Linked DNA regions of Homo sapiens: region 1 is linked to region 2. The links are contacts of gene promoters, found by promoter capture Hi-C in blood cells and fetal thymus (Javierre and others, 2016). All regions are on one chromosome and are shown on one strand. Each heading gives the region's core, a stretch centred on a gene start or on the middle of the fragment in contact. The rest is flanking DNA. Distances are from core to core; before and after follow the strand shown.

The links. Contacts are between HindIII fragments. The CHiCAGO score rates a contact against its expected background, and 5 or more counts as called.
Region 1: a fragment that was not itself captured here is called in contact with the fragment with the promoter of ABCA6 in region 2 in 1 of 17 cell types (megakaryocytes); the score reaches 5.1 in megakaryocytes.

The regions. Positions count from the first base shown.
Region 1 is chr17:68,903,793-68,909,004 of GRCh38, reverse strand. ABCA8 (ATP binding cassette subfamily A member 8) reads left to right here. Exons shown (of 40, transcript NM_001288985.2): 18 at 1,126-1,265; 19 at 2,842-2,961. Among named protein-coding and RNA genes, the nearest start is that of ABCA8, 49 kb to the left of the region's middle. The HindIII fragment of the contact is 968 bases long and covers 2,109-3,076 here.
Region 2 is chr17:69,138,022-69,143,154 of GRCh38, reverse strand. It overlaps ABCA6 (ATP binding cassette subfamily A member 6), which reads left to right and starts at 1,260. Exons shown (of 39, transcript NM_080284.3): 1 at 1,260-1,410; 2 at 2,407-2,547. The coding sequence starts at 2,452. RefSeq lists a silencer at 1,073-1,367. The HindIII fragment of the contact is 11,176 bases long and covers 1-2,261 here.

The sequences.
Region 1 (5,212 bases), core at 1,343-3,842, 240 kb after region 2:
CTTTTAAGTTCATACATGACTTATGTGTCAGTGGAATAATTTTTGACTTATGCATTTGGTCAAATAAAATTGCTACCATTTTTAAGGGCTTGTCAAGTGCAAACTTCACTATTATTCCATTGTTCGAATAACCCTAGAGGCTGGGAATCATTATTCCAGTTTTCTAATAAAGTAACTGTTTAGATAAGTTAAATAACACGTTCCAGATGCTAAAACAATATTTCAAAGCCAAGTCACTACTGATATTTTGCCCACTGTATAATTTATAACCTCAATTAATAGAATATTGTGTTTGTCTGTTTCTCTATAATGGAGAAATAGCTGTGGTATTTTTCAATGGATAGACTGATTTTCTCAATGATACTTTGTTCTTATTCAAAGTTCTGGGCTTAGCATTACAAGAAAAGCAAACCACATTCATCCATTATTAGTTTCTATCTATAATCCAGTTTCCTTCATAGCACTTACTACTATTGATAATTATTTTACTCATCTGGTTGTCTACATGTTTTCTTCCTGACGCCCGCACTAGACAATGAACTCCATAAGAGCAGAATAATGCTGCTTTAGTCACCATTGTATCCTCAACACTAAGTATGATGTTTGTCACATACTAAGAACTTAGTAAATTTGCATTGGATGACTACATTGAGTAACTGAAACTGTTTGGCATCTATACTTCTCACAAGTCTCTTGTTCCTTTGAAGCGATACAACAATTCTATTTAGTCAGCTTAAAACTGAACCTTCAACTGCAACGTTATCCATTTTGCATAGTCCTGACCTTTGCTGTACTGCAACCCTGGTATTTTCCACTCTGTGACCACCCTCTCTTCAGGAGCTTCAATCAATATGAAACTTCTCTGGGCACTACTCCTGAGTAACCTCACCAGTAACTCTCATTAGCTCATTCTTTTCTTTTGTCCATCACATTTATATGATTTGGCTGGGTTTTTGTCCTCTTATTTCTTGGGTTTTTGTCCTCTTATTTTGTGTTTGTCTGACCTATTTCTGGCATTAGATTTTAATTGATTTTCTTTGTCCTATAGAGACTAGTTAATTATTTTCTTGCTATTGGAGACTATGTCGAGTAACATATGTCTTTTTTTTTTTTTCTGAATGCCAGCTTGCAGTTAAATGAAATATGTGTTGAGGAAAACATAACATCACTTGTTAAACAGCACATCCCTGATGCCAAATTATCAGCCAAAAGCGAAGGAAAACTTATTTATACATTACCCTTAGAAAGAACAAATAAATTTCCAGGTAATGTGCATGAACACTGTGAAATAAAATATGTGAATAATAGTCATCATCATCATAATTATTATCATTACAACTAACATTTATCAATGTCTTACAGTATGCTCAGGTACTGAAACATAATCAAAAGAATAGTACAATAACTGAATTATTTTCTGTATAGTGGGAAATAGAATTACATTCTAATAGTTGTATTGTAATGCCTGGGCATTTTAGAGGGCTTCTTTTAGTCCTTCTTCCCTAGTAGTGTGTAACATAATATTCTAGTATTCATAAATGTACACAAACCCAAATGGTTGAAAACCTCTGGCTTATGCACTACATTAAACAGCCCTGTGATGTGGCTATCTGTCTCGGTGAGACTTTTGCAATAACTTTGGGTTTTTCAGGCTAACGCATAAAAGTTTACTAACTATGTTTGTTGTTCAGGGAACTTGTTCCTTAACAATGGGGCACTATAAGGGCCCACATTAGTGGTTGAAACAATTAACCTTGCTGTATATGTGGTTAACAAAGACATATACATTCATTCAAATACACATTTTATGGTGACAACACAAGCATTCCTTAGAATCATCAGGAAAGTGTTACGCAAATTCTGATTAGTACTTTTTAACAGTAATTATAATTTAAAGAAAATTTGTAGACGTTTTAGGTGGAATGAAGAATGATGCATAATACTCATTATTAGCTTAAATCTTACTTCTTTTCTACCTTTCTGTATGAGGTATTCTAGTCAAGACAAAAAGCTTTTAACCTATCCTTTTGCCCAAGCAGGAGCTCCAGATGGAAGCCTCAGGACTTCTGTAATCACCCTAGTATTAGAATTAGGTTTTTATTTAAGCTTGATTTAACCACTGTAATTCAAATCCATGCAGGCAGGGGCACTGTTCACTGCTTCATGAACAATGACAGATGCGTAAGTATATTTTGGTGAACGAACTAAAGAATGAATAGATATAAAATTGCTAGAGCGAATAATCACTGTCACAATTCCAGGAAAATTCCCTGATTCAGTTCCACATTCTCTGCCTGTTAGGTCTTGTGAATTTTTTCTTCCATTGTTAGAAACAGAAAATTTTTTAATGGTTTATATTCTATGTCTTCTCTTTAACAAATATTTTCTAAACTACAGAAGATTCTACACCATCCAATTAATTCTCAAAAAATTAATTCCTTTCCTTTTGTCAGTTAGAACATAAATGGCTCCCATTTATATCTGTTCTCTAGAAAAGACTTTTCAATTAATTAGGCTTAGAGTTGAAAAACCCAGAGTCTCACAATTAATTAAATTTTAAAAGGAAGTCAGAAAAAACTAAGATTAAACTTTAATAGAAATGCAAATGAATATAAATTAATGTTTGACAAAGTAATATTTGGGTTGTAACACATGATGTAAAATAGAAAATAATATATAGAATTTGCAGAATAAGATGATCTATTATGAAATGTTAATTTTCAAATGTTTTTGACATATCACAAGTATAGTTTCATAGATTTGTGCTTATTAGTTTGAAAAATTGTCTTCAGTTCACTTGTGATTCTTGTTTTAATTCACTGCTGTATATGTATTCTTTAGAACTTTACAAGGATCTTGATAGCTATCCTGACCTAGGAATTGAGAATTATGGTGTTTCCATGACAACTTTGAATGAAGTATTCCTGAAGCTAGAAGGAAAATCTACAATTAATGAATCGGGTAAATAAAATGCATGAAAATTATTATGTAAAAGCACATATTTCAAGAACACACTGTTCCAAAGATGTGATTACAAAATGTGGGGTTCATGATTAAGGCTCTTCTTAGACAAGCTTGTGTAAAAATGAAACGCATCCCTGTCAACATTGCTTTGTAGTTAAAAATAATCCATTTTTCTACATCCAAGGCTCACTGCACTCATATTAGCTCTAGGCTTCTAAGGGCAATTTCAGATAAAACATTTATTCTAAATCATAAATTAATATAAAACATGAACCCACAGATCTAAAACACTTAAGAACCCCAAACAATACTTTAAAATGAAACTATTAAATTCCTGTAGGCCAGCAATAAAGAAGAGAGTCTTAATTAGACATATTGTACTGTTCCACAGATATCAGATTCTCTGGTGTCAGGTTTTTCTTTTTTTTTTCTTTATGTTAGAAATTGGACACTATCTATCCACCTATTTTCAAGGTCACAAATAACTTATTCTCTTGTGTTCAGACTGTTTTGAAGCCGAACATAATAAACTCTCTATTTCTGATACTGCACTTTTTCATTCTAACATTTTCATTTGTTCTTTTTTAGAGTTTCAGTTCTTTACTATTTCTCATCTGCTCTCAATATTGTCCATATTTTCCAGTAGATCTTGTAACATATTTATCATAGTTATTTTTAAACTTGTGTATTTTAATTCTAACATGTGGACCGTGTGACTGATGACCGTTATCAGTAACTGACTCTGATTTTTTTTCCTCTTCCCTATGGGTTATATTTCCCCGCTTCTTCATATGTCTTGAAATTTGTATTTTATCATGGATGTTACTTTAACAAAACAGGAACACTGAGGTAAACAATGGCCAGAAAATGGCATGACTCTTCCTCTGTCAGACTACTGATGTGGATGGCAGAACTGATCTAATTTGTATTTGGCAAGTGCCTGGGCTTTTGCACAGGTTTTATTAGATTCAGTCCACTCCCAGCTTCGAATGTTTTAAAGGTAGAATCAGGTCTTTCCCTTAGACGTGACTTTGAATTATAGCACTGGAAAAATTCTATATATTTCTCTATAGCCCTGCTATCAAATATCTCAATAATGATTAATCTCACTGATTTTCAGCCTGTCATCACTTTTTGTTTATTTATTTGTTAGTATACATCTCTCCACTCCTCATTCAGTGACTGGACCCTAGTGGACTCATGTATTACACAAAAGGAAAGACCCATGAACCCTGATGATGTCTTGCTCAAGACACTATGCAGCTTCTTGTGTTTCTCTCTCCGTTTTTCTGAGTATCTGCCCCCAGCTACTGCTGTACTGTTCCTATGCACTTAGGAAAGGCTCCACGAAAAAAAGTTCGTAGATGCTGTAAACTCGTTTTGTGACTTAGGTACCCCATGATTCTAGTCAGTTATATCAGCCCACATATAATCACAGAATTTTTAAATCTGGGCTGCTTTCTTTTCACCTACCTATGGTGGTTTTCTCCTTTTTCCTTTTTCTGCCATGTCCCTAAAGATGAAAGCTTCCACAGGAATCTTCTCCCCCTAGAAATGTTTCCTTCCTTTATACATGTTAGTTTTTTAGCTTTCTTTGTGCTCTCGCCCATCTGATGGATTAAAAATAACTAATATTTATTCCCTTGGTAAGACAGGTTGACAGTCTCTTGCAACTAACGAGAAGCAGAATATCCCTGAATTATTATTATTATTATTATTATTATTATTATTATTATTATTATTATTATTTCTTTTTTTTGAGATGGAGTCTCGCTCTGTCACCCAGGCTGGAGTGCAGTGGCACGATCTCGGCTCACTGCAAGCTCTGCCTCCCGGGTTCACGCCATTCTCCTGCCTCAGCTTCCCGAGTAGCTGCGACTACAGGTGCCCACCACCACGCCCGGCTAATTTTTTTAATGGACTTTTGACCACTATCTTAAGATCCTTATATCTTCATTCACAGTGTGTTTTGTGTCCTGTCACTGTACTTATACATTTACGGGTGTGTGCTTTTTGAGGTTTGATATTAGGCTTATTTTAGCATTATACAATGGACAGCATCCTGGGTATCCAGAGATTATAGAGAACACACAAATGAATGCAGTCTCAGAAACTATTCAAAACTGAATAGTTTTGAAATCTCTGCAGTAACAATTTATAGCTAACTCCCAGTTTGTAGCTTGCCATTTACAGTTTACTCCCTGTTCAGAGCATGTCAATTTGTAGCTTCATTGAACATGTAAGATAT
Region 2 (5,133 bases), core at 11-2,510:
TGAAAATGATTCCTAAAATAAAGTATAAAGGGTCTAAAACAATGATAACAACAAAAAAATTCATAAAAGCCTTAACTGTATTCCAGGTGGTTTAAAAGTAACTTTGAGTTTTGTTATATTACTATTACAAAATGTTAAGTGTTTATGACCTCCCTTCCCACACCCCATGAGAACTTTAGAACACCTTTATTAACGGTGTTTGTGCCAATTTTCAATGTAAAAAAAGTGGCATTTCACTGTTGACTATTTTTAAAAACAGAAGTAATTGCCAAGGAGAGAAATTTTATATATATATATATACACACACACACACACACACACACATTATATATATACACATATGTATACATTATATATATATACATTTTATATATATACACACAGGCACACACATATACACATAATAGTATCATGGCTGTAGTTGTCATTGTTGTTTAAATTATCTGCTTTGCTCCAGAAAGTTTCTCAGCTTTATGATTATTAACATCTGTGGATTGGGAGCCGTGTCAAATATTTGAGATTTCCCAATTCATGGACTTTGATTTCCTGTTTTGCCATTCACTGTGGCAGGTCAAGAAAAGTTTGCAACTCTTTACAGAGCAGAGAGAGACAGACTATGCTATATGAATTAAACATGTTTCAGTTTGTTGTAGTCTTCGTGCACAAAAATTTATCTGAATCTTTTTATATGTTTTGTAGACCTGGGCAAACCACTGGCTTATTTTGTTCATAAGTATTATGAAATCCTGTATCCACTGTGAAGAGGGTGGGAGCAACAAATTTGTTAAAAATTCTTCATTTGTCTGTCCTAGGAGTTTCTCCAAGGCGTACTATGGATTGCTTAGCTTTATTAGGAAAAAAAATCAGCTCCAGAATACTCTGCTAACTTAGTCTGAATTAGTTAAATATACAACTAACTGGCAGTTGTGTTTATTCATCAGTAGTGAAAAGAAAATAGATACAGATTTCTTATACAAATTTAACTGCTTTGTTTGGTTAGTTATTGTTTTTACTCTTTCTTGTTCCTGCCTCCATCTTGGTCTCATCATTTCTGAAGAACTAGTTCCATTTTCCTTGTTTACCGTTTTCCCCCTTATCCCTGTAGTTGAAAGGCTAAGTGAACAAACACAGAGTTTATTTTATTCCCAACCAACCACGGAACAGTCATTTCCTTGCAGAATAATTGGCTTAGGGAGAAAGAGACACAGAAAACAAAACAAGTTCATCATGTACAGCTTGGTCTGGCTACACCCCTTTTCAGAAACCAGGCTGTGTAAGAGCTGCTGGAGTAGGCACCCATTTAAAGAAAAAATGAAGAAGCAGCAATAAAGAAGTTGTAATCGTTACCTAGACAAACAGAGAACTGGTTTTGACAGTGTTTCTAGAGTGCTTTTTATTATTTTCCTGACAGTAAGTAAAGCTCTATTTTGTTGTGCTGTGCCAAATATGTGGGTGGACACTGCTAAAATCAATCTATTTTTCAGATGTTTCCCAATTCTTATGTGTTTTATGTTAAAGACCTAAGACTAAATTTTTCTGCTTTTTCCCAACCACTTTTTATTGTGTAGATTGTAACAGTAAGACATAGAAAAATGGAAAAAATTTGCTTCTGTGCTAGCTGAGGGAGAATTATCTGAATATTTTGATGTAAAAATATGAAAGAATTTCATTTTGAGGTTACAGAAACGAAAAAAATTGTGTTTCTTGATTTGCAAATCTTTGGGCAAAATTACTTTCCCGTGTGATTTATTTTTGCTTCTTTTAAAGCTAATTTTGTAGTTTCATTAGTTATTCAGGGACTTCTGAATTCAGAAAATTGAGAGAAATTGCTTTATTCTTCCTGTATCTCAGAATCAAGTTTCAAGTAGTTTGAGCCTGGATTATGATTTACAACCTATCTCTTTTCATAAAAGTTGATTCAATCTGAAGGTAAAATTACAAGAAAACACTTTATTGAGGTTGTATCTAGTGGATGTAATTTATTATTCAGACAAATTTAAGTAATCAGACTTTTGATGTTAATTTGATTAGCTCTGAGATTTCTGTTTCAATGTAAAGAACAAGAAATGGCTATTAACAGGATGAAATTAATTTAATCACTCTATTCATGTACTTAAAGTTCTCTCATACAAGGCCAAAAATGTGAAATTATAGGTTCTGAAGTTGAATTACAGCTTTTCCATTTCAGTACTCCAAGTTATTGCAAAATTGTGATAATAATCACTCTGCCTTCCCACCATCACCCACTCCCCTAAAAAGCTTAAGGTGAAATATTTGAGGTGAAATTTTACAGTCATAAATTATTGAAATAATATTTTAAATTCATGTTTACACTTTTTAAAGGTAGTAAATATTTTCCTCAACACTATGATCAAGGTTTTTCTTATTACACTTATTTTTTTCTAGGTTGTGTTCCACCATGATTACTTTCTCCTTCAGCGAATAGGCTAAATGAATATGAAACAGAAAAGCGTGTATCAGCAAACCAAAGCACTTCTGTGCAAGAATTTTCTTAAGAAATGGAGGATGAAAAGAGAGAGCTTATTGGTATGTTTAAAAATTTGTCTCTTTCCACGGTTAGCACTCTTACAGTGTTTCATTACCTACTGATTCTCTTATGTTCTCTTTTAATTAGTAGATGGGATTTATTGATTTTACCAGTTCTCTCTAGTTGTATTTGTTGAATTGAGAGACTGAAGAATAACATAAAATTATTAAAGACTAAAAGAATTCCTCATATAAAAAGAGATTAAGTGAACATTTAATTATATGGTAAATTACAGCAACTGCTAGAGCTACTACCAAATGTTATACACTTAGAGCCAAGAAGTACAAAAAAAATGTTGTCAGAAGAAATGGAGACATTTTAATTTTGTGGATTTATTTTCAAGGACATGAATTTTCTACACAAAAATTGTTTTTAAGAATTATGATCAACTAACACCACTGAAAGTCAGTTTGCATCAAGCAGGTGGGCTAATCACAGATGACTAGCCCAAATCTCAGTGGCTTAACACAGCAAATGTTTATTTTTTTATTTTTTATTTTTTTATTATTATTATACTTTAAGTTTTAGGGTACATGTGCACAATGTGCAGGTTAGTTACATACATATACATGTGCCATGCTGGTGTGCTGCACCCATTAACTCGCCATTTAGCATTAGGTATATCTCCTAATGCTATCCCTCCCCCCTCCCCCCATCCCACAACAGGCCCCAGAGTGTGATGTTCCCCTTCCTGTGTCCATGTGTTCTCATTGTTCAATTGCCATCTATGAGTGAGAACATGCGGTGTTTGGTTTTTTGTCCTTGCAATAGTTTACTGAGAATGATGATTTCCAATTTCATCCATGTCCCTACAAAGGACATGAACTCATCATTTTTTATGGCTGCATAGTATTCCATGGTGTATATGTGTCACATTTTCTTAATCCAGTCTATCATTGTCGGACATTTGGGTTGGTTCCAAGTGTTTGCTATTGTGAATAGTGCCGCAGTAAACATACATGTGCATGTGTCTTTATAGCAGCATGATTTGTAGTCCTTTGGGTATATACCCAGTAATGAGATGGCTGGGTCAAATGGTATTTCTAGTTCTAGATCCCTGAGGAATCACCACACTGACTTCCACAATGGTTGAACTAGTTTACATTCCCACCAACAGTGTAAAAGTGTTCCTATTTCTCCACATCCTCTCCAGCGCCTGTTGTTTCTTGACTTTTTAATGATTGCCATTCTAACTGGTGTGAGATGGTATCTCATTGTGGTTTTGATTTGCATTTCTCTGATGGCCAGTGATGATGAGCATTTTTTCATGTGTCTTTTGGCTGCATAAATGTCTTCTTTTGAGAAGTGTCTTTTCATATCCTTTGCCCACTTTTTGATGGGGCTGTTTGTTTTTTTCTTGTAAATTTGTTTGAGTTCATTGTAGATTCTGGATATTGGCCCTTTGTCAGATGAGTAGGTTGGGAAAATTTTCTCCCGTTTTGTAGGTTGCCTGTTCACCCTGATGGTAGTTTCTTTTGCTGTGCAGAAGCTCTTTAGTTTAATTAGATCTCATTTGTCAATTTTAGCTTTTGTTGCCATTGCTTTTGGTGTTTTAGACATGAAGTCCTTGCCCCTGCTTATGTCCTGAATGGTAATGCCTAGGTTTTCTTCTAGGGTTTTTATGGTTTTAGGTCTAACGTTTAAGTCTTTAATCCATCTTGAATTAATTTTTGTATAAGGTGTAAGGAAGGGATCCAGTTTCAGCTTTCTACACATGGCTAGCCAGTTTTCCCAGCACCATTTATTAAATAGGGAATCCTTTCCCCATTGCTTGTTTTTCTCAGGTTTGTCAAAGATCAGATAGTTGTAGATATGCGGCGTTATTTCTGAGGGCTCTGTTCTGTTCCATTGATCTATATCTCTGTTTTGGTACCAGTACCATGCTGTTTTGGTTACTGTGGCCTTGTAGTATAGTTTGAAGTCAGGTAGTGTGATGCCTCCAGCTTTGTTCTTTTGGCTTAGGATTGACTTGGCGATGCGGGCTCTTTTTTGGTTCCGTATGAACTTTAAAGTAGTTTTTTCCAATTCTGTGAAGAAAGTCATTGGTAGCTTGATGGGGATGGCATTGAATCTATAAATTACCTTGGGCAGTATGGCCATTTTCACGATATTGATTCTTCCTACCCATGAGCATGGAATGTTCTGAGCCAAATCATGAGTGAATTCCCATTCACAATTGCTTCAAAGAGAATAAAATACTTAGGAATCCAACTTACAAGGGACGTGAAGGACCTCTTCAAGGAGAACTACAAAGCACTGCTCAATGAAATAAAAGAGGATACAAGCAAATGCTTATTTTTAACTCCTCATGGTCTAATGAAAGTTGAGAGTGGAAGTAAAGTAGGTTGGGTGGGTGAAGAAATCTTCTCCACACAATCATTCAGGCACCTAGGCTTCATCCAGGACCTCTGCCACCATCTTGGACCTTGAAGACCTCTAGAGGATCCTATGCATTCAGTCAAAAGATCAGGAAATAGTGGGACCAGGACAGTGAGAATATAGAAAGTTGTATATGTCCATGAACGAGGCCTGGAAGTAGTGCATATCACTTCTGCCCATATCCTGTGGTCCAGGAAATCATTCGG